Linked DNA regions of Homo sapiens: all the other regions are linked to region 7. The links are contacts of gene promoters, found by promoter capture Hi-C in blood cells and fetal thymus (Javierre and others, 2016). All regions are on one chromosome and are shown on one strand. Each heading gives the region's core, a stretch centred on a gene start or on the middle of the fragment in contact. The rest is flanking DNA. Distances are from core to core; before and after follow the strand shown.

What was found. The method cuts DNA at HindIII sites, captures the fragments that hold promoters and counts their contacts. A CHiCAGO score of 5 or more calls a contact.
Region 1: a contact is called between a fragment that was not itself captured here and the fragment with the promoter of LIG4 in region 7, in 1 of 17 cell types (fetal thymus). The highest score is 5.6, in fetal thymus.
Region 2: a fragment that was not itself captured here is called in contact with the fragment with the promoter of LIG4 in region 7 in 1 of 17 cell types (fetal thymus); the score reaches 7.6 in fetal thymus.
Region 3: a fragment that was not itself captured here is called in contact with the fragment with the promoter of LIG4 in region 7 in 1 of 17 cell types (fetal thymus); the score reaches 11.9 in fetal thymus.
Region 4: a contact is called between a fragment that was not itself captured here and the fragment with the promoter of LIG4 in region 7, in 1 of 17 cell types (fetal thymus). The highest score is 6.1, in fetal thymus.
Region 5: a contact is called between a fragment that was not itself captured here and the fragment with the promoter of LIG4 in region 7, in 4 of 17 cell types (fetal thymus, total CD8 T cells, total B cells and 1 more). The highest score is 12.9, in fetal thymus.
Region 6: the fragment with the promoter of TMTC4 here is called in contact with the fragment with the promoter of LIG4 in region 7 in 1 of 17 cell types (fetal thymus); the score reaches 7.2 in fetal thymus.

What each region holds. Positions count from the first base shown.
Region 1 is chr13:99,501,393-99,504,311 of GRCh38, reverse strand. TM9SF2 (transmembrane 9 superfamily member 2) reads right to left here and starts at 2,840. Exons shown (of 17, transcript NM_004800.3): 1 at 2,535-2,840. The coding sequence starts at 2,705. RefSeq lists an enhancer at 2,460-2,919. The HindIII fragment of the contact is 178 bases long and covers 1,240-1,417 here.
Region 2 is chr13:102,393,857-102,396,848 of GRCh38, reverse strand. It overlaps FGF14-IT1 (FGF14 intronic transcript 1), which reads left to right and starts at 2,330. Exons shown (of 4, transcript NR_036486.1): 1 at 2,330-2,495. FGF14-AS2 (FGF14 antisense RNA 2) reads right to left here and starts at 2,271. Exons shown (of 1, transcript NR_036487.1): 1 at 1,144-2,271. It also overlaps a transcript of FGF14 not described here. RefSeq lists an enhancer at 2,195-2,424. The HindIII fragment of the contact is 3,160 bases long and covers 1-2,992 here.
Region 3 is chr13:102,842,527-102,845,741 of GRCh38, reverse strand. All of the region lies in intron 9 of BIVM-ERCC5 (BIVM-ERCC5 readthrough), which reads right to left. Among named protein-coding and RNA genes, the nearest start is that of ERCC5, 1.9 kb to the left of the region's middle. RefSeq lists enhancers at 1-111, 322-371, 1-780. The HindIII fragment of the contact is 8,959 bases long and covers 1-3,215 here.
Region 4 is chr13:102,763,579-102,766,430 of GRCh38, reverse strand. TEX30 (testis expressed 30) reads left to right here. Exons shown (of 6, transcript NM_138779.5): 6 at 1-543. The coding sequence ends at 30. All of the region lies in intron 2 of LOC105370337 (a long non-coding RNA gene), which reads right to left. Among named protein-coding and RNA genes, the nearest start is that of LRTM3, 5.9 kb to the right of the region's middle. The HindIII fragment of the contact is 7,460 bases long and covers 1-2,852 here.
Region 5 is chr13:102,591,954-102,595,054 of GRCh38, reverse strand. LOC107984588 (a long non-coding RNA gene) reads left to right here. Exons shown (of 2, transcript XR_001749984.3): 2 at 654-1,718. Among named protein-coding and RNA genes, the nearest start is that of TPP2, 3.5 kb to the left of the region's middle. RefSeq lists enhancers at 2,059-2,606, 2,487-2,816, 2,847-3,066, 2,607-3,101 and a silencer at 2,842-3,017. The HindIII fragment of the contact is 727 bases long and covers 1,167-1,893 here.
Region 6 is chr13:100,673,285-100,676,321 of GRCh38, reverse strand. TMTC4 (transmembrane O-mannosyltransferase targeting cadherins 4) reads left to right here and starts at 1,527. Exons shown (of 19, transcript NM_032813.5): 1 at 1,527-1,578. RefSeq lists enhancers at 857-936, 2,262-3,037 and silencers at 1,127-1,626, 1,657-2,016, 2,067-2,146. The HindIII fragment of the contact is 7,703 bases long and covers 1-3,037 here.
Region 7 is chr13:108,213,610-108,216,817 of GRCh38, reverse strand. It overlaps LIG4 (DNA ligase 4), which reads left to right and starts at 1,282. Exons shown (of 3, transcript NM_206937.2): 1 at 1,282-1,334; 2 at 2,208-2,280. RefSeq lists a silencer at 1,080-1,219 and an enhancer at 1,063-1,357. The HindIII fragment of the contact is 5,824 bases long and covers 1-2,817 here.

The DNA of each region.
Region 1 (2,919 bases), core at 79-2,578, 8.7 Mb after region 7:
ACTTAACAGCATCTTTTGGAAAAAATTATTTCCATTTCACAACTCTCATTTCTAATTTTTAAAAGAAGTTCCTTCCACTTTTCTGAATAATGTGTACAAGACTGTCCTCCTTAACAAATACGAAATAGATGAGAATAAATTATTAACATCCTGATTGAAGTAATACAAATTTCAACTGTTTACTGTTATTTATAGCATCTTCTTTGAAAGGCAAAGAAAATAAATATTAAAGTGTATTTCAAATTCTCTACACCAGTTAGTCATATCGCAGGAAAAAAGCTGAAAGTACACCCTCCTGCTCTTCTAAGAGTTGTTTCCATTAACCAGATGTGAGTGTAGCTGGCAATAAAGATAAAAATCCAAACATTTCGGAAAAATGATCTGCTCTGCCTGTTTTATCCCTATACCTATGAAAATTAAACATCCAAAATGACTCCCAAGATTAACTAAAAAATAACTAGAATACAACCTAGCCACTTACCAAAGGACCTGTTGAGAAAACAATCATCTAACTGGAAGACCACCTATAAGTTTCACTTATTCATTTTCTAAGTCCATCTCAAATGTCACTTCTTCTTCTTTTTTTTTTTTTTTTTTTTTTTGAGACAAAGTCTCGCTCTGTTGCCCAGGCTGGAGTGCAATGGCGCGATCTCAGCTCACTGCAACCTCCACCTCCAGAGTTCAAGCGATTCTTCCTGCCTCAGCCTCCCGAGTAGCTGGGATTACAGATGCCCGCCACCACGCCCAGCTAATTTTTGTATTTTTAGTAGAGACGCGGTTTCACCATATTGGCCAGGCTGGTCTTAAACTCCTGACTTCAGGTGATCCACCCGCCTCGGCCTCCCAATGTGTTGGGATTACAGGCGTGAGCCACCACACCTGGCCCTGTCACTTCTTCTATAGAGCTTTCCCTAAAGACTCTAGTCCACTGATGTTTCCTCATTTTGTTTTAGCACACTTTGGACATCATCCTGTGTAACAGATCAGATTTCAATAATCTGTTCATAAGCTTATGTCCCTTACTTTGAGGTTCCCAGAGGGCAGGAAATATATTTTTCATCTTTGAGGCACTAGGAATAGAATATACAACTGCTGTTAAAGTAAGACCAAACACTAGGCCTTAAAGGTTGGTTACTAAAATATTTAATGGAAAAACCAGTGTACTTGCAAGTCTAGATCTTCCACTTGGAAGCACAACAACAGTCTTTCAGTCAGAATCCTCAAAAAGGAGTGAAAGCTTCTTGCACTGCAGAGTATGAACTTAAGTACTGAAACACTAACTGCAGACTTGAGTAAACCTTAAATATCCTTAGATATTTTTTCAGATACAAGGTTTTGCACAGATGTATAAACATGTCATTCAAGATAGCTGACAACCTAAAAAGAAACTGCAAAATGTTATGAAAAATTTAAAGCTTATCTAATGCCCTAAAATAACCTCAAAATTCACAGCTATAGTAAAGCTAACTGTAATAAACACCAGCTTAAAAAAATCAAACTTAATAAATAAGCCTATTTATAGATTGTAAACGTTTGTTGAACGATTATTTGAATTGTTGAAATCATTAAAGGTTTCAAAGAGATCCTCATCCCCCAAATGTTAAGTTTTAAATAAACTTAACGAAATAATTGTGTATGTATACTGTAAAGCCCTACACCATATAACCTAAAAGCAGGTTACTTTATTTACGCCTCTTTTACTAGCAATTAAACTGAAAACCTTGAGTGTGAATGTTGTAAGAGATCAAAGTTTTCAAGACTTGCCCTAGGAAAACACCAGTTTCTCCCACCATTTGCCCCTTTTAAGTGTTTAAAACCATCTCAGAGAAAATAGTGAGACCTCGTATCTTTTTTTGTGTATTAAAATCTTTTACACTTAAAACTCAGAAATCAAGTGCCTCAACCATTACAGCAACTCTTTATTAATGCACTTTGTGTGGCTCTGGGTGTTATACTCCACAAATAAGGAACCAACTTCTAATTGTGAAGCGAGATATCAAAGTCCTAGAAAGAACAAGCTCTCCTAACCAACTAGAAGGTTCCAGGAAAATGCAATTAAACAGGAAGCAATGAAGTTAAAAGCTAATGGAAACTGTTAACTAGGCTGAGTGTTGCTCACATGTAGGGAGTCGGTCACCCGCTTCCTCAGCGTACATGTTACAGGGCTGTGAGCGAACACTCACGCGTGGACCTGCATACATCCAACTCCAAAGCTCTGAGGCGTGAAGCCCAACTCCAAGGGCGCTCCACACGGTCCCTGTTCCAGGAAAACTGAATACAGCTGCTCGTGCCACTTGGCCCGCAAGACGGGAGGCGAGTCTGAGGCCCACTGCGTCCTCCAGAAACTACCCTTGCAAGGGCTGTTTCAGAGCCCCCCACCCACAGCCCAGCAGACCCCAAAAGCTTCTGGGGAAACTCAACCCCACCCGCTGCTACGCCCCCTTCCCTCGCTCCCACCCGAGGATCAGCTCCCCCGGATAGGGACGACTTCCCCTTCCAACAGTGCATCAGAGGGCTCGTCAGGCCTCACCCACCTTGCACTCGTCGCTCTTTTTTTCTTCGTCGCAGAAGTTGACGGGCGCCAGGCCGGGCAGGTAGAAAGCGCCGCTCCGGCGCGGGCCAGGAACCGCCCCCAGCAGGAGCAGCGACAGCAGCAACAGCCGCGGCCACCGAGGTGGAGACAACACCGGCAGCCTCGCGCTCATGATAGTTGTTTCGGGGAAAGGGCAATCAAACCTAGGGGGTCAAGAGGGAAGGAGGGGTGGGGAGTCTCGGAGACGACTACAAGGCCGCCAGAGATAAAGGAAGCCGGCCCCCAGAAGGCTAGTTCCGGTTGCGCTAGGAGACACCCCGGGTCCCGCAACAGAAACCGAAGCGGACCGCAACAGAGCATGCGCACCGCCGTCTGCACATGCTCAG
Region 2 (2,992 bases), core at 271-2,770, 5.8 Mb after region 7:
GGCATTTTAGGTAGGCTTCGGAGTACTGCCTTGTTGGGAGAGTAGATTTTTCTTTTTTGAAATGTATATCCCAGTTAATAAGTGTAAAATTCAATGCATGATAATCTAAACTTAGTTTTAACAATGAAGATGACTTTGGCTGTACAACTTGTTCTCATCTTAGACAGCATCCATAACTGAGAAAATTTGTTCAAATGATGCAGTACTTTCTGAAAGTGCTAAAGCTAATTCTATACTATACTTCACGTTTCCTACAATGAACCATTCCTTTAAAATGTTCGAACCCAGTCTTCCATGTTTTAGCAACACAAACATTGGAGACTTTTGTGAAGTGTTTTTATACATATGGTAACAAGGACAACAACCAATGTTTTCACTCCTTTGCACATTTTGGCATCATACCTCACTCAAATTGACTCATACGCCTTCTATAAATACCACGTAGATGTCTCAAAATGGAAGCATTTATTCAAAATAGTGTCTTTTGCCTTAAGGGGAAACAGTTGGGCTGTTTGAACAGTCTAACAGGAGCTCTTCTCTTCAGTGTTAAACAAGTCATTGCACTGTGCCTATTTTTAATAAAACCTTTGAGCCCAACTCAGTATTACCTCCAGGAGGGACTGTGGAGGTAATACTATTTACCTCCTGTAAATAGGGACAGGGAAACACCTATTTACACATCTGCCTGCTCACTGCCATAGTCTGTGTGGTGTTCCTTAGGACTTGTGTACCAGGTACAAGGTTTAGTTATGTGTTGAACCCGGGTACTGAAGGGCATGGAGTTTTCTGAGGGAGACTTCTCAGCTCCCCGTATACCTCTAGAGATGCAATAGCTCTTTTGTATCAAGACCAACTATGTCCTGATGTTTTCCCTGTGTAGTTCTCTAGCTGCCACTATTTTTTTTACTTTGGTCAGAATGTAAAAGGTAGGATGATGAAGAGAAGGGAACAAAAGGAGGGATTCTTAGGGACTTCCTAAACTTGAAGGCAAAAAGGATGAATGTCGCAGACATGTTTTATAGGGAACAGTGAAGTTCTTGTTTGATTAGTCTGGTAACATCATGTAAGAAAGTCACCCAACAACTGCTGGGCACCACTGCCTTTGTCACTGTCTCTTGACAAAAACTCTGTTCACGACACATGGTAGGTTTTCAATACACTTTAATAAAATAGTGAAAAATAGGTATCTCTAGGATAGTGAACTATGGGACTACAAAGGGCAGGACGATACATTTTACTTGGTTAAATTCGCTTAATGCTTACTCCTTTCTCAAAGCGCCAACCAAGAATTTGGCTACTAAATAAAGAAAAAAGCTGTTAGTGGCTCTTTATCCGCCACGATAGGGTGCTCTGAAACCCGGTCCTGCAGACATTCCCTTGGCCCACATTTTATAGCTTCCTTCTCAGTCTCAAGGCCTGTAGTCTACTGTTCACACTCGAGCCTCTCGCAAAATACACAAGCTCAAAAGCTCATGGCGTTCTCCCCATCTGGCATTCTCGGCCTTAGAATAGCAAACGTTAGGGCACCATTAGGTTCATAGTTGCCAGACCCTTCATTTTCTTTTTTAATCTTTAATTTTCTTCTTAACAAGGAAGACATTCCGCAAAAAATAAACTCCCTCTTTTGAGCTCCTTTCTCTGAAGATGGTAACTGGAACTCTCATTAGTAAAGAACCTCGAGTTCCAGTTGCTTTGGACGGAGTTTCTCGCTTAGTATTTTGCTCTTTGGCAGTTTGAAAAGCAGTAATCTTCCAACTTCGCAGCTCCCTGCACTCGCGCCTACCACCCTGATCTATTTGGCTTTCTCCTTTTTGGAGCCACTTTAAAAGGTGCAGGGTGCTGGGCCGCTGTGGCCTCGGGCTGAGAGGCGGGGAGTTGGTGTCCGGGACCAGAAAGTTTGGCAGAAGCCACGGCTCTGGGCCCAGGCCCCGGGCTTCCAGAGAAGTGTGTCATTATTTGTTTTCTGCAAAGCCGCGAGCGGGCCCACGCTGCAGCTCTGCCTCCAGGCGTGGAACCCCTCGGTAATCCGGGTGAAGCTGGGTTCCGAGTGTGGACTGCTTCGGCTCTGAGGAGGAGGGAGCCCAACGGGCCAGGCACGGGCTTCCTCCTGGCTTTACCCATTGGCCCAGAGTCCCCGGTCCCGCCGCCGCTGCCCTCTGCTCACGGGGACCGGCCATCACCGCGCTCCCAGCCTCGGCTCGCCGGGGGCTTCGCTACGCAATGCGGCGGAAGCGGCCCGTTGGAGCCGCCGTAGCGCGGGAAGTTTCCGTTGCCACGGAGATGACCTCTGACCCTAGGGCGTCTCTGGGACCCGGCAGCTTGTGCTGTTGTTGCTATGGAAACCATGGCGGCCGGAAGCCGCCGCGCGGGAGAGACTTGGGGCGCGGGTCGGGGCTAGGGCTCCTGCCCTGGCAGAGATCTTCGCTCTTCCGTGGTGGCCGGGGACCGGGCAGTGAGCGGCCGGCTCTGCCGCCCGCGGGGCGCGGGTTTGCAAGGTCACTCCTCCGGCGTTGACGCGGGGGCACCCCATGTGCACTGCTGGACCTGAGGGATGGGAAAGCCACAGGTGGCTGCCTTGGCCCTCCCGGTCTGGCCTCCCGCTAGCGGGCGCCAGCTCTGGACCCGAGACCCATCTGAAGGAAAGGGAAGGGAGCTGGCGTTGCTGGTGATTCTGCCCAAGCTCAGGACTGGGAGAGAACGAGCCAAGTTCTGGTCTCAGCTTACACACTAGCTACTGGGAGACCCTGGGCGGGTCCTGAAGTTTTCTGGGCTTCAGTCCCCTCGGCTACTACAAGAAGGATATTGATTAGAGTAATCCCAGATCAGCCCCAGCTCTAATATTCTAGGTTCCCATAACGTTCACACCCAGTCCTGATTGTAAGTAAACTTCCCTCACCCCTTCCCTGTATCTCTCCCGGACTATGTTAACTATATATTTAAATTGTACTCTAAATTCAGAGACCATCAGAGATAAGAGGTTGACCTTAGCGAT
Region 3 (3,215 bases), core at 1-2,500, 5.4 Mb after region 7:
AGTTTAGCGCCAGTGGTGATGCCTTGGTGGTTACTTGCTTCCGTCACGCTGGCATCCTGAAGGCGTTAAGCATTAAAACAATGTGCAAAAGCGCCTTCTTGGTGGAGTAACGGGCTTTTGTTTTTGTTTGAGACAGGGTCTCACGCTGTCGCCCATACTGGAGTCCAGTGGCGCATTCTTAGCTCACTGCAGCCTGGAACTCCTGCTGCCCGAGCTCAAGCAACTTTCCCATCTCAGCCTCTCAAGTAGCTGGGACCGCAGGTGCGCACCACTATGCTTGGCGAATTATTTTTGTAGAAATGAGGTCTCCCTGTGTTGCCCAGGCTGGGAACTATTTTCTACACGCTTTTTTAGTATCGGTTTCTACCTTTGCGCCGCCGTGTGTGAAGATACTTAACACAAAGTGTTGTTTTACACGTGAAGAGACAACCAAAAGGTGGATGCCTTCTTGGTTTTGTACTATTTATTTATATGCTAGCACGTAGTAACTAAAGAATAATAAAATTTAAAGCCTGTGAAAATGTTAGGGTCCCAAAATTACTAAGCAAAAGGGAAAAGTCAAGCTGGGAACTGCTCAGGGCAAAACCTGCCTCCCATTCTAGTCAGTCATCCTTCTGCTCACTGAGATAGATGCATATTCTGATTGTCTCCTTTGGAAAGGCTTATCAGAAACTCGTATGCAGCCTTTTGTCTCTCATCTACCTGTGACCTAGAAGCCCTTCCTGCTTCCGAGTTGTCCCCACCTTTCTGGAAGGAACCAGTGTACTTACATATGTTGATTGATGTCTCCTGTCTCCCTAAAATGTATAAAACCAATCTGTGCCCCAACCACCTTGGGCACATGTCATCTGGACTTCCTGGGGCTGTGTCACAGCTGCGCGTCCTTAACGTTGGCAAAATAAACTTTCTAAATTAACTGAGACCTGTCCCAAATTTTGGGGGTTCACAAGCCTTAATCCTTGACATATAGTTTAGTTTTCTTCAGCATCTAAAAGTTATAATGCCGCGGCTTGTAGATCAGAAAGGACTAGAAATCAATTAACAGAGTAACCCCAGAAAAGGCCACAGCTCTGGAACCCTCAGGCCAAGATTCAAATCCCCGCATCGTGCCTCACTATGGTGTTTAGCATCCCTGAAGTCACAGTTGTTCAGAATTTGTGTCTCCATCAGTAATCAGGGCATAAAACCAACCTTGCAGACTTCAGTAAGTATTCAAGGTGTTACATGCAACGCACTTAGCACTAGTAACTATAAAGGATAGTATTAGCATCCATATTTGTTCAAATTGGAACGAAATTTAAACTCAGTGAAAAGGCTGACTTAAGGGAGCAGGCAATTTTTTAAAGACTTCTTTATAACAGAAGTATACGGGAAATTGATTTTTTTTATTTTTTTATTTTTTATTTTTTTGACAGGGTCTCACTCTGTCGCCCAGGCTAGAGTGCAGTAGTGCAGTCTCAGCTTACTGCAACTTCCACCTCTCAGGCTCAAGTGATGCTCTTGCCTCAGCCTCCCGAGTAGTTGAGATTACAGGCCCCCACCACCACGCCCTGATTTTTTTTTTTTTGAGACAGGGTCTTGCTTTGTTGCCCAAACTGGTCTCAAACAATCCTCCTGCCTCAGTCTCCCAAAGTGCTGGAGTTACAGACATGAGCCACCGTGCTCCGTGGAGAAATCCATTTTTAGCAAAACCACTTCTATGCTCAATAAGATGGTTCACAGTGGCCATGTTTGGTTGACCTAGTCACATCTAATTTGCTACAGGAATAATCCTGACAAAGTGTTTTTTGCATTTCCTCCATATGTAAAGTAATCCCCAGAAACTGTTCCCAGTTGTTATTTTACTGAGAGTAATATAACTGCCTGTTCAGTATTTGTCTCTTCCCCATGGTAAACTGTAAACTTACTGAAACGAAGAACGATTTTCGTGACTGCTACATCCCCCAATCCTGGCACTTAGCAGTTCTGTAAATATTGCCTAAATGACCTCTTAAGCCTCTAGTCTAAAGCTCTCCAGTGCACCTTGCAGTCTGCTGAAAGAATCTGCTTGGAGGTTAGGCTGATCATTCATTCAGATCTCATCTGAACCATATGTTGCCTTGTGTTATGGTCTGAATTGTGTCCTCCAAAATTCATCTGTGGAAGCCTGAGTACCTCAGAATGTGACTATCTGAAGACACAGCGTTTAAAAATGATTAAATTGAAACGAGGCCATTAGGATAGGCCCTAAATCCAATTTGACTGGTGTCTTTGTAGAAAGAGGAAATTGGGCCACAGGGAGAGACTCCAGGGATGATAGGCACAGAGGAAAGGCCTTGTGAGGACACAGTGAGAAGGCGGCCCTCTGCAGGTGAAGGAGACAGGCCTCAGAAGAAACCAAACCTGCCTGCTCCTGGACTTCTAGTTTCCAGAACCATGAGAAAACAAATTTCTGTTGTTTACGCCACCCTGTCTGTGGTGTTTTGTTATGGTAGCCCTGAGAAACTAAGACACTGTGATCCTAGGCAGGTTTCTTCACCAATGAAACCCTCAGTTTCTGCCAGTAAAATTAGAATGCGACCAACATCTTGTTGTTCTTGTTGCTGCTGAGCTATTTAAGAACTGACCTGGTAATGGTGTATAATTTAGTTTGTTGAGTGAATCGCTGGTACAGGAGGGGTGGGAGTGTTATTGGTAAAGTTGAGATGCAGAATGTGATGGATCCTAGAAGAGCTGCCTGAGCCCCTCCAGTCTGGGAGAAGACAAGTTGGCAAGTATTTTGGGTGCTGCACCAACTTGGCCTAATGATGGCACACAGTTCTTTAACAGTAATAGCAGTAGGGAAAGGAATTGCTGCAGAATTTGATCTAAATAAACTTTTTTTTTTCTGCCTGTGAGCTGGGTAAAAATAAATAGCCAACATAGGCATTTGAGTATTGTAAGTACTTTTAAAACCAAAGCAAAGGCTGGGCATGGTGGCTCACGCCTGTAATCCCAGCACTTTGGGAGGCCGAGGCAGGCAGATCACTTGAGGCCGGGAGCTCGAGACCACCCTGGCCAACATGGTGAAACCCAGTCTCTACTAAAAATACAAAAATTAGCCGGGCATGGTGGTGCATGCCTGTAATCCCAGCTACTCGGGAGGCTGAAGCAGGAGAACCACTTGAACCCGGGAGGCGGAGGTTGCAGAGAGCACCACTGCACTCCAGCCTTGGCAATAGAGCGAGACTCTGTCT
Region 4 (2,852 bases), core at 235-2,734, 5.5 Mb after region 7:
ATTACTGAAATGGACAAGAAATGTCATTAGTTAAAAGCCATGTTATCTTGAGTACACATACAGTTAATTTGATAAAGAAGAGTATGCCTCTCAGCATTGTGAGATATATTTCAGACTAATTTGATGTTCTTTAATGTTCCCTTATTTTTGAAACACGTTTTAAATGTGAAATTAATGTCCTTCACAAAATGTCTTTTGAAAGCACTGTTACAGTTGTATAAAGATGATGTAAAAATATTGAAGGTGGTCTACATATAATTTATTTTCATTAGTATAGTTAAGTTTTGAAAAAAATTAAACATCTGAATTTTGTTACAAAAAGGTGCTTTTGTCTTATTGATAGGCAACTGAGAAATTTTGCAGAGCAGCGTTATCTTCAGAAAAGGAAAACATTATGGTTAATCTAGTCAGAGATTTATAGAATGCACACATCTCTTCACCTTATCTTTTAATAAATCACAATGAAAGGATAGGAGTGGACATATGTTTCAAATATGGGGACCCTGAAGATTTTTTAGAATGAAATAAAGATCTTTAATTCAAGAAGTGTTCACTGAAGGCTTATTACAGGCAAACCTCATTGGGTTTGCAAAGATGAATAAAAACTTGGAGCTTACAACATAGTGTGTGAGGCTGGGCACGGTGGCTCACATCAGTAATCCAAGCATTTTGGGAGGCTGAGGCAGGCGGATCACTTGAGGCCAGGATCACTTGAGGCCAGGAGTTTGAGACCATCCTGGCCAACATGGCAAAACCCTGTCTCTACGAGACCATCCTGGCCAACATGGCAAAACCCTGTCTCTACTAAAAATACGAAAATTAGCCAAGTATGGTGGCACACATCTATAGTCCCATCTACTCGAAGGATGAGGTGGAAGAATTGCTTGAACCCAGGAAGTGGGGGCTGTAGTGAGCCCAGAGCACACCACTAGACTCCAGCCTGGGCAACAGAGTGAGACTGTGTCTCAAAAACACAACATAGTGTGTAAAATCAATAGACTACTCTGATTAAAGAGAGAAATAATTGCTAAATTGTAGTACTAACATCTTTGCTATATCTATGCAGTTGGGGCACTTAATTTTGCCTTGGAAAGTTCAGCTATCACCTGATCTCGAGCTTGAATGGTATTGAGTTATATATAAAGAACATAGTTTCTGTATTTCCTGTAAAATTCACAAAAGGTGATGAGGCTGATGTTAAATTTAAATAGAAGTTTGTAGTAAGAAATGTTTCTTTAATCTTTTGCATATCCTCCCTACTACTCTTAATGTTAGGCCATTAAAATAGCCTCAAGTGGCCTGGGCAGCTTGCAGATTTTTGAGGCCCTTTATTCCTCTGCCCTGATGGAATCAGTAGATTCAAAATATTAGTTTTCTAAATATGACAAAGAGAATGAAAACGTAGGTAATAATGTCCAAATCTTTCACATTGTAAAGTGATGCATAACTATAAATTTAAAATTCCTGTGACTATTTATAATAGATATTCTTGACTAAAAGTCATTTCCTGAACCTAAATTTTTAAGAATGTTGTATAAGTAAACAATAATTAACATTTGAAATTTTAAAACACTACTAATATCAAAAGATGATAAACATAAAAAATATCCAAAGCTATCAAGAAGATAGAATCACTGGTCTATTAACCACTATAAGTCATTGAAGAACATAAGTATTGTGAACCAGAAGTAAAGCTAACAGGACAAGGAAAACACAAAAGACAACTTATTACATAATGTTAGAGTACAACAAAACATTTAAAAGGCTACTGACCAGGCTATACAATTTACAATATTTGCGTTTGCAAAATTAAACTATAGGCATAATATGATGACCAAAGATACTACATCAAATATAGGGGTAATGTAGGTAGATGATCATTTAAAGTTGATTTTCCCCTGAGTTTTCTATAAGAAACTACTGTTCCTTATTGATGTAATGGCTTGACATTTGAGGACTGTATAGCTAGCCATATTTGGGGAACATAGAACTCCTAGAGAAAGATGAATGATGTATCCACAGCAGAAACGAACATTTAGGAAAAGGTCACATCTGCTCTCCTCCATAGATTTACCACGCCTTGCAGGAAAATGTTCAGCCCCTTCAAGTTTGAGATTATAATCAAAGAGCCATTCTGGCACCTCTTCTGGTAGGCCCTAATTAATGGCATAGCTGTTATTGAGGGGGTCTTGACTGCAAGTTGTCCAGGTTCTTGACGTTTTGGATAAAGAATTGGACAAAATGCACAGCAAAGCAAGGAAAGAGTGAAGCAAAGAAAGCATAGATTTGTTGAAAATGATAGTACACTCCACAGTGTGGGAGTGGGCCCAAGCAGCGGCTCAAGGACCCTGGAAAAGGAATCTTCTGGGGCCCAAACACCCTCTAGAGGTTTCCCATTGTCTACCTGGGTGTTCACCCCATGTAAATGAAGTGGTGGCCCACAGTCAGTCTGATTGGTTGCAGAAAGCAACCAGTCAGAGGCTGAAGTGAAGTTACAAAGTTACACTCCCATGCAAATGTCTGTTTGCAGAAAGCAACCAATTTTGCAACCAACTTTCAATTTTCTATCTGCTGCACAGATAAGGTGTGGGTTTGCAAAGGGAGTAGCCTCTGGTCTTTTTGTTACTTAGGCATGGAAAGTTGGGGTTTTCCTATCAACTTAGTTGTAGGAAGTCAGGGTGAATTGGTCTTAGGTTCTCTGCCTCCAGACCCTGTTCTCCTGCCTCATAAACACTCACCTAGACTAATGCTCCCCACCCAGGGGGGACCTTTACCCCTTAGGGCAGTGGTCCCCAACCTTTTTGGCACCAGGGACCCATTTCATGGAAGACAATTTTTCCACCTGACTGGGT
Region 5 (3,101 bases), core at 281-2,780, 5.6 Mb after region 7:
ACCTAGGTGGCAGACTTTTTATTAGACTGCCGTAACAATGTTCTTTAGATTTTTCTTTTCCTTTCCTTTTCTTTTTCTTTTTTGACACAGAGTCTCACTCTGTGGCCCAGGCTGGAGTGCAATGTCACAATCTCGGGTAACTGTAACCTCCGCCTCCCGGGTTCAAGCAGTTCTCCTGCCTCAGCCTCCCGAGTAGCTGGGATTACAGGTGCATGCCACCACACCTGGCTAGTTTTTGTATTTTTAGTAGAGACGGGGTTTCGCCATGTTGGCCAGGCTGGTCTTGAACTCCTGACCTTAGGGGATCCACCCACCTCGGCCTCCCAAGGTGCTCAGATTACAGGCATCAGCCACTGCACCCGGCCAGATTTTTCTTTTTTTGCTTACATATCCCATAAACATGTTTTTAAAAAAGTTATGTATCCCTTTGTACAGCTGTAAAATGAAGTCTAAATTTGTCACAATTTTTTTTTTTTTTTTTGAGATGGAGTTTTGCTCTTCTTGCCCAGGCTGGAGTGCAATGGCGGGATCTCGGCTCACTGCAACCTCCACCTCCCGGGGTTCAAGTGATTCTCCTGCCTCAGCCTCCCAAGTAGCTGGGATTACAGGCATGTGCCACCACACCCAGCTAATGTTTGTATTTTTTTAAATAGATACGGGGTTTCTCCATGTTGATGTCAGACTGGTCTCGAACTCCCGACCTCAGGTGATCCACCCGCCTCGGCCCCCCAAAGTGCTGGCATTACAAGCGTGAATCACTGCGCCCGGCCTATCATAAATTTTAAAAATTATAAAGGATGTAATTTCTGGCATAGTATAAATATCGTCATTATTTAATGAAACTTTCACGTTTCTCATGTAAATATACCCAGTTGAGTGTAACTCTGATAGCTACCATCAACTATTTATAAAATATCTGAACACTTAAAAGCAGACATTTTATATCACTATTTCTTCTGGAAACTTTATTTCCATTCTATATGGAATTTTTTCTCATTGTAATTTGCATTTATAATGGAAAGGCATATTGATAATGTATCATCATCTGCAATAAAAATATATTAATTTTAAAAATTTTCCTGGAAGAAAAATGTTAAACTTATTCTTTTGGGTTATCTTTCAGTTATTACAAAGTTGATTACAACAACATGAGTAAGTCTTAAGCTTTGATTAAAAATTACAGGACAAAAAAATTTTTATTGAAAATAGAGCTCTTAAAAAGATGCTTGGTATAAATAAGTCATGCTTCTGTTAATGACAGGACTAGTTAAAAGGATAAGATTTGTATGTCTGTGTCTCTTGTAAAATTGAATCATCAATTCTTAAGAAGCGAAACCAGGATATATAAGTATTACATAATATGCCCAGAAAGTAATGTGAACAAAATTCAGACGTACGTTGAAGCTCCCATTTTAAGAATCACTCATATGACAAATGTCATCTTTTGCTCTATAACCTTTGCTTAAATTGTAGAAAAGATGGATTTAATGAGACAAATGAAAAGTGGTTTAACATAACACACAGCAGAGCATATGCTGTTATGCTTTGGTGTTTGTTCCCTAGCCCTTGTTCCTCATAATAGATTGTGGAATGTTTCAAAAATGCTGTAACTTTTTTTTGCTAATTGTGGTCTTAACAAAAATTGTTCTTGATTTTAAAAAAAGATGGATAGGATTGGTTATTGAACTTTGATATTAAATAAAGTTTTAGTGATAGTATTTCAAATTGTCCCGTTATTTGATGCCCCAGAGGCTATTACACCTGCAGGTGGTGCATAATAGTAAGATTCGGGATGTGTTCCTTTTCCCTAAAAGGTGGGAGACCCAGCACTGAAATAGGTGCAAAAGAGAATCATGTCTTTCCGCCACAGGCACGCTGCCAGGCAGATAAGCTTAGAAAAAAGTGGTTGACTTCAGGCATCTGGAAATTGATTTCATCGAAACTATCCATGTACCAGTTTGAAACCCACTATTTTATATAACCCCTGAAATCACTTTAACTCAATACAGTCATTTACTGTTTGTCTTCAAGCCAAATGTTGTACATATTATAAGTGCTTACATTTTTTCCTCCTTTGATTTAATGACATTATCACTGGGGGGAATTTTTAATGCTAAGACAGTTTGTGTGACAGTTCATTGGATATTGGAAACAAGTAGAGAGTATAAGTAGAGAAACATGGATAATCTGTAATAATATATAATAATAAAACAAAAAAAAATGAGGAGGAGGAGGAGAGGCAAAAACAAGGTCAGTAGGCCTAGGCGTTGGTCATCTTATGGAGGGTAAAGTATTAATAATAGGCTGGACGCACAGCAACTTCTCTCACCCAGCATTGTTCAAAGCAGGAAGTGCTGAGTCAGATGTTTTTCCTGTCACCTGCCCCATTTGAGGCTGCAATCCAAGGCACAGGTGCTGTGGAAGGCAATAGCTTTCTATGAATCGCCTTCCTTGCAACTATTGCTGCAGCCTATCGTTTAGAGAATATTTTAAAATTTAATTTTCCAAGACTCTAGAGATTGCATAAGCATCCTACATGTGCCAGCCGCTGGGCTTTGAAATCTTCCTCTGCCTTGCAGCGAGGCCGCACCTCCCGTGGGCGGCTCCCAGCCCGTGATGGAAGCGAAGGGATGCTGGAGCAGATCTGTTTCGGGAGGCGGGCAATTTCGCGGACTGCTGTCTCAGGCTCCAGGACTCCCCGGCCGGCTTTGCCAAGTTGGACTGCGTGGTGGTCCAGGGCGCTTCCACCCAGCCTCTCTGCCTCTCCTATTTACTCGGCGTCAGACTTGCATCGCGGCCTGATGCCTCTCTCAGCTTTTTGTGGACCCTTGACTACCTGACCTCGCGCAGGCACTAACACGTATCCCTGCTCCTCACAACACGTCCGCCCCCACCCCGAGGACCCGAAACTAAAATAGCTCACACCAAAGAAACAGGTTCGGATGCATGAAGGTTCGCCACTGCTGCCCCCCAAAGGCAAAAGCCGTCGTTACCGTTTCTACCAAAGATAACTGAGTCCAAAAGCCAGGGCGACCTGATCAGCAAAGTTTAAGTTACAAGGCCGTGCCTGGCTGTATGGAAGCCTGATCAAGTAGTTCTGA
Region 6 (3,037 bases), core at 278-2,777, 7.5 Mb after region 7:
AGTTTGGGAAACACTGGATAGTGGTGTCTTCACTATCACAGGGAGACAGGGAGTTGAAAGCAAGCAGGGAAAGGACGCATTCAGTTTTGGATGGGTTCCATTTGAGGTGCTTGTTACCAGGAGTAGCTGAATAGGAAGCTAGATAAACGGATTTGGAGCTCAGAGGAGCAAAGATTAGAGTTGCAAATTTGGGATATATTGATTTAAATGTTGACAGCAGGTTAAATCATTCAGGGAAAAATTGTGGAGTAAGAGGAAAGGTCTGAGACCTTGAAAACTCTGTTATTTGGTGGTCACCCAGAGTAGACAAGCACGCCAAGACTGGGGACAGACAGGAAAGTGGAGCACCCCCGCCACAGGAAGACGTGTTTTAAGGAGAAAGAAGGAATTTTGCTCAGATCAGTTAACACGAGAAAGGAGAGTGTCCTTTGACTTTAGTGATGTGGATGCTACTTGCGACAATTAAAAAGGCAATTTCACCGAGTGTGAAAACGAACACGTGGAGTTGAGAGACCACAAAACTGGGGGCAGGCGCCTCTTTCACCAACTTCAGCGATGGAAAGTAGAAGAGGGTGGCAGCAAGGGTACGTGGAGTAGAGAATCTTGGAATGATGAAATGCCGAGGATACGGATTCCAGTCCAGAGGGAGCAACGGATCGGATTCTGCGATACTGGAAAAACAGAAGGTGGGGGGGGGGGCTCGGTGATGGAGGGAGCAGGTGTGCAGTTTTGCCGGTGGAAAGTGGAAGTTTCTCTTTTCTCCTGAAGCAGGCGGCAAAGACCTCTGAGAGTGGGAGTGTGGTGGGTGTGCCGGGCCCCTGGATGGGAGTGGAGGTTTGGAACCAAGTGGCCCGAGCCTGCGGTGAGTGGGCCCGCCCTGGGTGGCTCTGGCCGCAGCAGGGTCGATGGGGCGGCATGGTCTCGGCGGGAAGAACACGGCTTCAGTCAGTTCTGTTCTAAGAAGCAGAAGGTGGAGATACGCATGTTTTAAACAACTCCTCCCGGACAGGAAGAAGTGGAGTTCTGGCTGTTCTGCGAGGACGCCGCAGTCCCAGCGTGGAGACCACCGCGCAGGCGAAGCGCGAGACAGGCCAGAAATAGGGTCCCGCGCGCGGACCCCGGAGGAAAAGCGAGGGCTCACTCGGTTTCCCGCAGCCAGCCTCGCCCGACCCAGCTGGGGCCGCCCCTTCCCGCCCCGGCCCCGCCTCCGCCTCAGCTCCGCGCCCACAACCCGGCTTCCTCCTCTCCCGCCGGGTCCGTCTGTCCCTGCGCCTCCTTCGCCGCCGACTAGCGCCCCCTGGCCTGACGTCACCGGCGCGTCCGCCAATGAGCTGAGGAGGGACTTGGCTGTGGCCTGAAAGTGACGGGAGCAGCAGCCAATGGTCGGGCGGAGGGGGCGGGCCGAGACTGGTGCTGGGGGGCGCCCGCGCGCGTGGGGAGCTGCGGGAGGCGCGGCGCGGGGGGGGTCGGGTGCGCGGCGGGCGGCCCCTCCCCCTGCCAGGTCCGGGCGGGTGCCTGGAGCCGCCAGAGTTTCCGCACCCGGGAGGGAGATGCGGCCGGGGCTCAGGCTCCTTGCAGGTAACGCGCGGGGCGGCCCCTGCAGGGCCGAGCGCGCCGCGGGGCGAGCGGAGTTGGACGCGGAGCGGGCGCGGGTTCCCCGCTGCCGCCGTGTCCCGAGCCCCGCACGGCGGCCCGGGCCAGAGCGGCGCTGCTGGAGGAGTTGGTTCCGGGACCTGAGCTGCGGCCCGGGCCGGGGTCACGGGGGACGCGGGCCCCTGTGTGAGCCGCACATGGGACAAAGGGCGCGGCGTGGAGGCTGCGCGCCCCGCCCGCCGCGCTCGGGCCCCTGAGCTTCTCCGCCCGGGCAGAGGTCGCCGCCCCCAGCCCCTGCCTGCACAGCCGCGCCGGCGCTCCCTCGGCCCGGGCGCACCCGGCGCCTGCGGCGCGTCCCCGGAGCGGCCATCTGGCCGCGGGGCCCCGCGCCTGGCCGCCAGCTGGCCGCGGCGCAGGCGATGGCTGGACACAGCCGGGCCGCTTGGCCGCCTGCCCTGGGTTCCGCGGCGGCTCCCCCGCCGCGCCGCGAGCGCCTGCTACTCCACGCTCGGCTGCGGAGCGGAGCGGCGCGAGCGCGGGGCCACCGGCCCGGGCGCCCGGGGCCACCGAGCCGCCGCTTCCCGGCGTGGGCTCGGAGTTTGGGGAAGCCGAGCAGGTGGCGCAGCCACTGCCCACCTCCTGCGAACTCTGCGGGGCTTCTGGTCTTGTTGATGTTGTGGCTATGGGCTGCGTGTGTGTTTTTCTTTTTTTTAAACCACACACAAAAGAAGGGAGGAGTTAGAGGAACGATCTAGCCACTATGAGTCATCCCACACTTCGCTCTTTCCCCGGGAGAGCAAATAAATGCATGGGGAGAATGTCTTGAGAAACAGTTATAGTAGGGACTGACTAGGTCCCCTCCCTGTCCCTTTTCTCTGCAGTCCTGTCTGCGCCGGGCGCGCCCCAGATGGAGTGGGGTAAAATCACGGCCAGTGCACCTAGATAGGGGAAATGGCTACAAGCTAGCAAACTGGAAACTTTCTGGGACAGTGGAACTGTGAATATCAAACCACACACATTCTTGCTATAGGCAGCCATGGCCCTCGTGCGCTACTGAATTATAAAATGGGAAGGCCGTCACAGCAGGACGATACCTTAGCCTTCAGTAGCATGTATTCAGCACTGCACGGAGGAGGGCGGTGGTGGTGGCTCGCGCCCCTGCCTTGAGGGGCCCAGGGTCTGATCAGTCAGGAAACTGCCAGGCCCAGGGATGCAGGGTCACAAACGATTGTGTTCTCTAATCTGATTCCCAGAGGCGCTGTCACCTCTCAGCGTGCATAGGATGGCTGGCTATGTGATTGAATGTTACAGATGAGGTAGAAAGGCTGGGCAGAGGTCAGCAGGCCCCTGGATGCATGGAGGGGAATATTCTTCTGTAGGTGGCTGCTGCTAATTTTTCCAAGGGGAAACATTTAGGTTTGGTCTCGCCATTCTGTTTACCGCA
Region 7 (3,208 bases), core at 33-2,532:
TCATGGTTCTTCTCATGTAACTAATACAAAGTCCAGCTTCTGACATTGTAGGAGCTCAGTAGAGGTTGAACAAGCTACAAATGTACACGGATAGGTACCCTCTCCTAAGATGGGCAAGTGGAGGCTCCTCTACCTTAACACTATTCATTTTTCCTCCAAAATAAATTGATAACTAAATTGAAGAGCAGATACTCACAAAACAATATCATGAGACTTTACAACATCACAGATGATTTTAGATATTCAGGCATATTAGGTCAATTAGACATACGAAGTAAATAACTGAATGTTCTTGGGCTAGACGGAACCTCCGCTACAAACTAGCACTGAATGAAATGTGTCAGTTTTGAAAAAGGAGGTTTTTATACATTACACAACCTCTAAGGGCACTTAACAGCTCTAATATGTTTTATCAGGGCCCACTGCAGCAAAATTTATTTTATTGTAAAGCAATATTTTATGCTAAAATAAAATAGTTCTAAAAGTTGTTTCCACCCCTCTTTATGAATAACTTCTCACTTCTCCATGGCGAAAGAGGACTGACCACAGCAAAAATTCGGTGGAAACCAACAGCTCCTGGAACACAAAAACTGGGGTTGTTTATAATCTCTCCACCCTGAATATCTAGCACCATTACTATATAATAATAGGTGCTCAATAAAGGTTTGTTAAATAACTTTATTTTTAAACCTTAAACAGATACTAGAAGAGTCCATAGTTGATTTCTGGTCATGCAACGGTTTATTTCTATATTGTAAGTTATGTATTGTTATGTATTATTTCTGTATTAAGAGAACTGAGACCACAGTAGCAAACATCATTTAAAAAAAAAAACAGCTCTATATAGTTTGCAAAAGCCTATTTTTTAAAAGTTTAAATGAAACAACCAACGTTTTGAGTTGGGAGGATGTCCTGTTCTCTCTTGGGAGTTTTCACAACCAGCGAAATCAGTATAGTTACCACTGTTTTACGTACAGAGAACAAGAATTAGAGGCTATCACTAGCCAGAGCACAAAGTGATCTTAGGTCTCCCTCGAGACAAAATCCACTGGCGTGTGGATCAACTGCTTGCAGAGAGCATCTGCTGCCGAGGCCAATAGGAGCCGTGTGTACTCAAGACCCTAACCAGGATCCTGCAGGTCCCGCCTCCGCAGCCCCACGGGGCTGCCGGCCCCCCCACCTCCCATCGCGAGCCTGGCTGCGCCGGCGTGCTTGAGCCCGGTGACTGCAAGGCCCCGGGTCTCCCCTGCGCCTGCGCGGCGAGCAGCTGGCGGAACCGGCATCTTCTGGCGCCAGCTTCCGGCTTAGCGGCTGAGCTTCAGGCTTGACGTCAGGTGGGAAGGGTGTGGGGTGGCAGGTGGGGGCGGTTGGGAGGTTGGGGGGGGTTGGGGTGGGGGGGGTGGGGGGTGGCAGATTGACGGTGTGGGGGGAGTCAAGTGGAAGGTGTGGTCCAGCAGGCGGCGAGAAGTCTGTGGGGCAACAGACCGGGGGAAGGTCTGTGGGGCGTCAGGCGGGGTATCTGTGGGACGTCAGGTTGGGGTCTGTAGGGCGTCACGTTGGGGGTCTGTGGGGCGTCAGAGGGGGGAATCTGTGGGGCGGCAGGTGGGGGGTGTTCGGGGCGGGGTTTGGGGTGTGTGTGGCGGCAGGAGGCGGGGGAGGTCTGTGGGGCGTCAGGTTAGGGTCTGTGAGGTGTCAGGCGGGGTTTACGTGGGGTGGCAGGTGTGGGGTGTGTGGAGAGTCAAGTGGGGGGTGTGGGGCGTCAGATTGGGGGTCTGGGGGATCAGATGGGTGGTGTCTGGGACGTCAGGCGGGGGTCGGGGGGTCGTCAGGCGGGGGATGTGTGGGGAGTCAAGTAGGGGAAGTGGGGCGTCAGATTGGGGGTCTGGGGGATCCGGTCGTGGGGGTGTCTGGGACGTCAGGCGGGGGGCCTGAGGGGCGTCAGGTGGGGGGGTCTGGGAGGCGTCAGGCGGGGGTCGGTCTATGGGGGCAGCAAGCAGGGTGTTTGTGCAGCGGCAGGTGATGGGAGTTGCCGAGTCCACAGCGCTGTAGACTGCGCCGCATTAGAAGCCTGGCCTCCTGATGCTGTGCTCTTCATCTAGACCCAAGCCCCAGGTCGTGGGACGATTTCTCCCGTTTTTGACTCCCTGGAACTGTATTGCCTGCTTTACCTGCGTACATGTTGATTCTTTCTCATGGCAACCCCGCAGGAAACCATCAAGATCTCATTTTACAGCTGGGATTCTCTGGTTCACAGAGGTAACGGAGCTTGCCCGAGGCCAGGTATTCACTGGGAATCCGTGAAGGGTTGGGGGAGAGTAGGGGGAACGGGCAGAGGAATGATGTAGACTCCTTAGGGATTTTCCATTTTCCGAGAGGGTACAGGGGGCATTGGAGCGGGAGAGACTTTAGGCTTGGAGGGAATTACTTTATTTCTCTTCTTACACTTGGTCTTTCATTAACTTTTGGGATCCCAAAGCCCTTCTAGCGTCTTTGTCTGCTCATTTCTTTTTGCTGAGATTGTCCCAAATTGTCACTAAGTGCTGTGGAAGATAGGCAGCTGTAAACCCTTTGTTTCCTAGGGAAACACAGCTTGTCAAGGGTTGCATGAAGGATACTTCAGTTGCATTCGTCACTTACTCCTTTTTTTCCTCTCTCTTTTTTAAGTGCAATAGCATAGCACTTAATCACCTTCCATAGTCACTGAATAAAACCTGCCGGTTTATTTTCATGTGTCACTTCAGGACAATTTAGTCAGAACTGAATGAATGATGAATCGTTATTGTGTACTAATTGCTTGCATTCATTCTCCTGAAAGCTTTGCTTATTGTTAAAGAGTGAAGCTTCTTCCCACCTTTTTATCTCGTTAATATTTTGCAATATTTATATTTTAAATGTTGCTTGGATCAGCAAGCATTATAGTATTAAAATTATCAAGACTTACTACTTTTTAAAGCACATTTTGTAGATTATCTGATTTTTATCTTCATTCTAATTTCTACATAGTTTTTAACCCCATTTTATACTTTAGGAAACTGAAGCTTAGAGAAATTAAGTAATTGCCCAGTATCACACAGCTGTTAAATGTTACCATCCACATTTGAACTCAGATTTATTAGAGTCTAAAACCTGAGCCCTAACCAGGAACCTCCTCATTTGTCTTACTGCAAATGGAATGAATCAGCTAAAATCCTCAGAATCCAAAAAATAA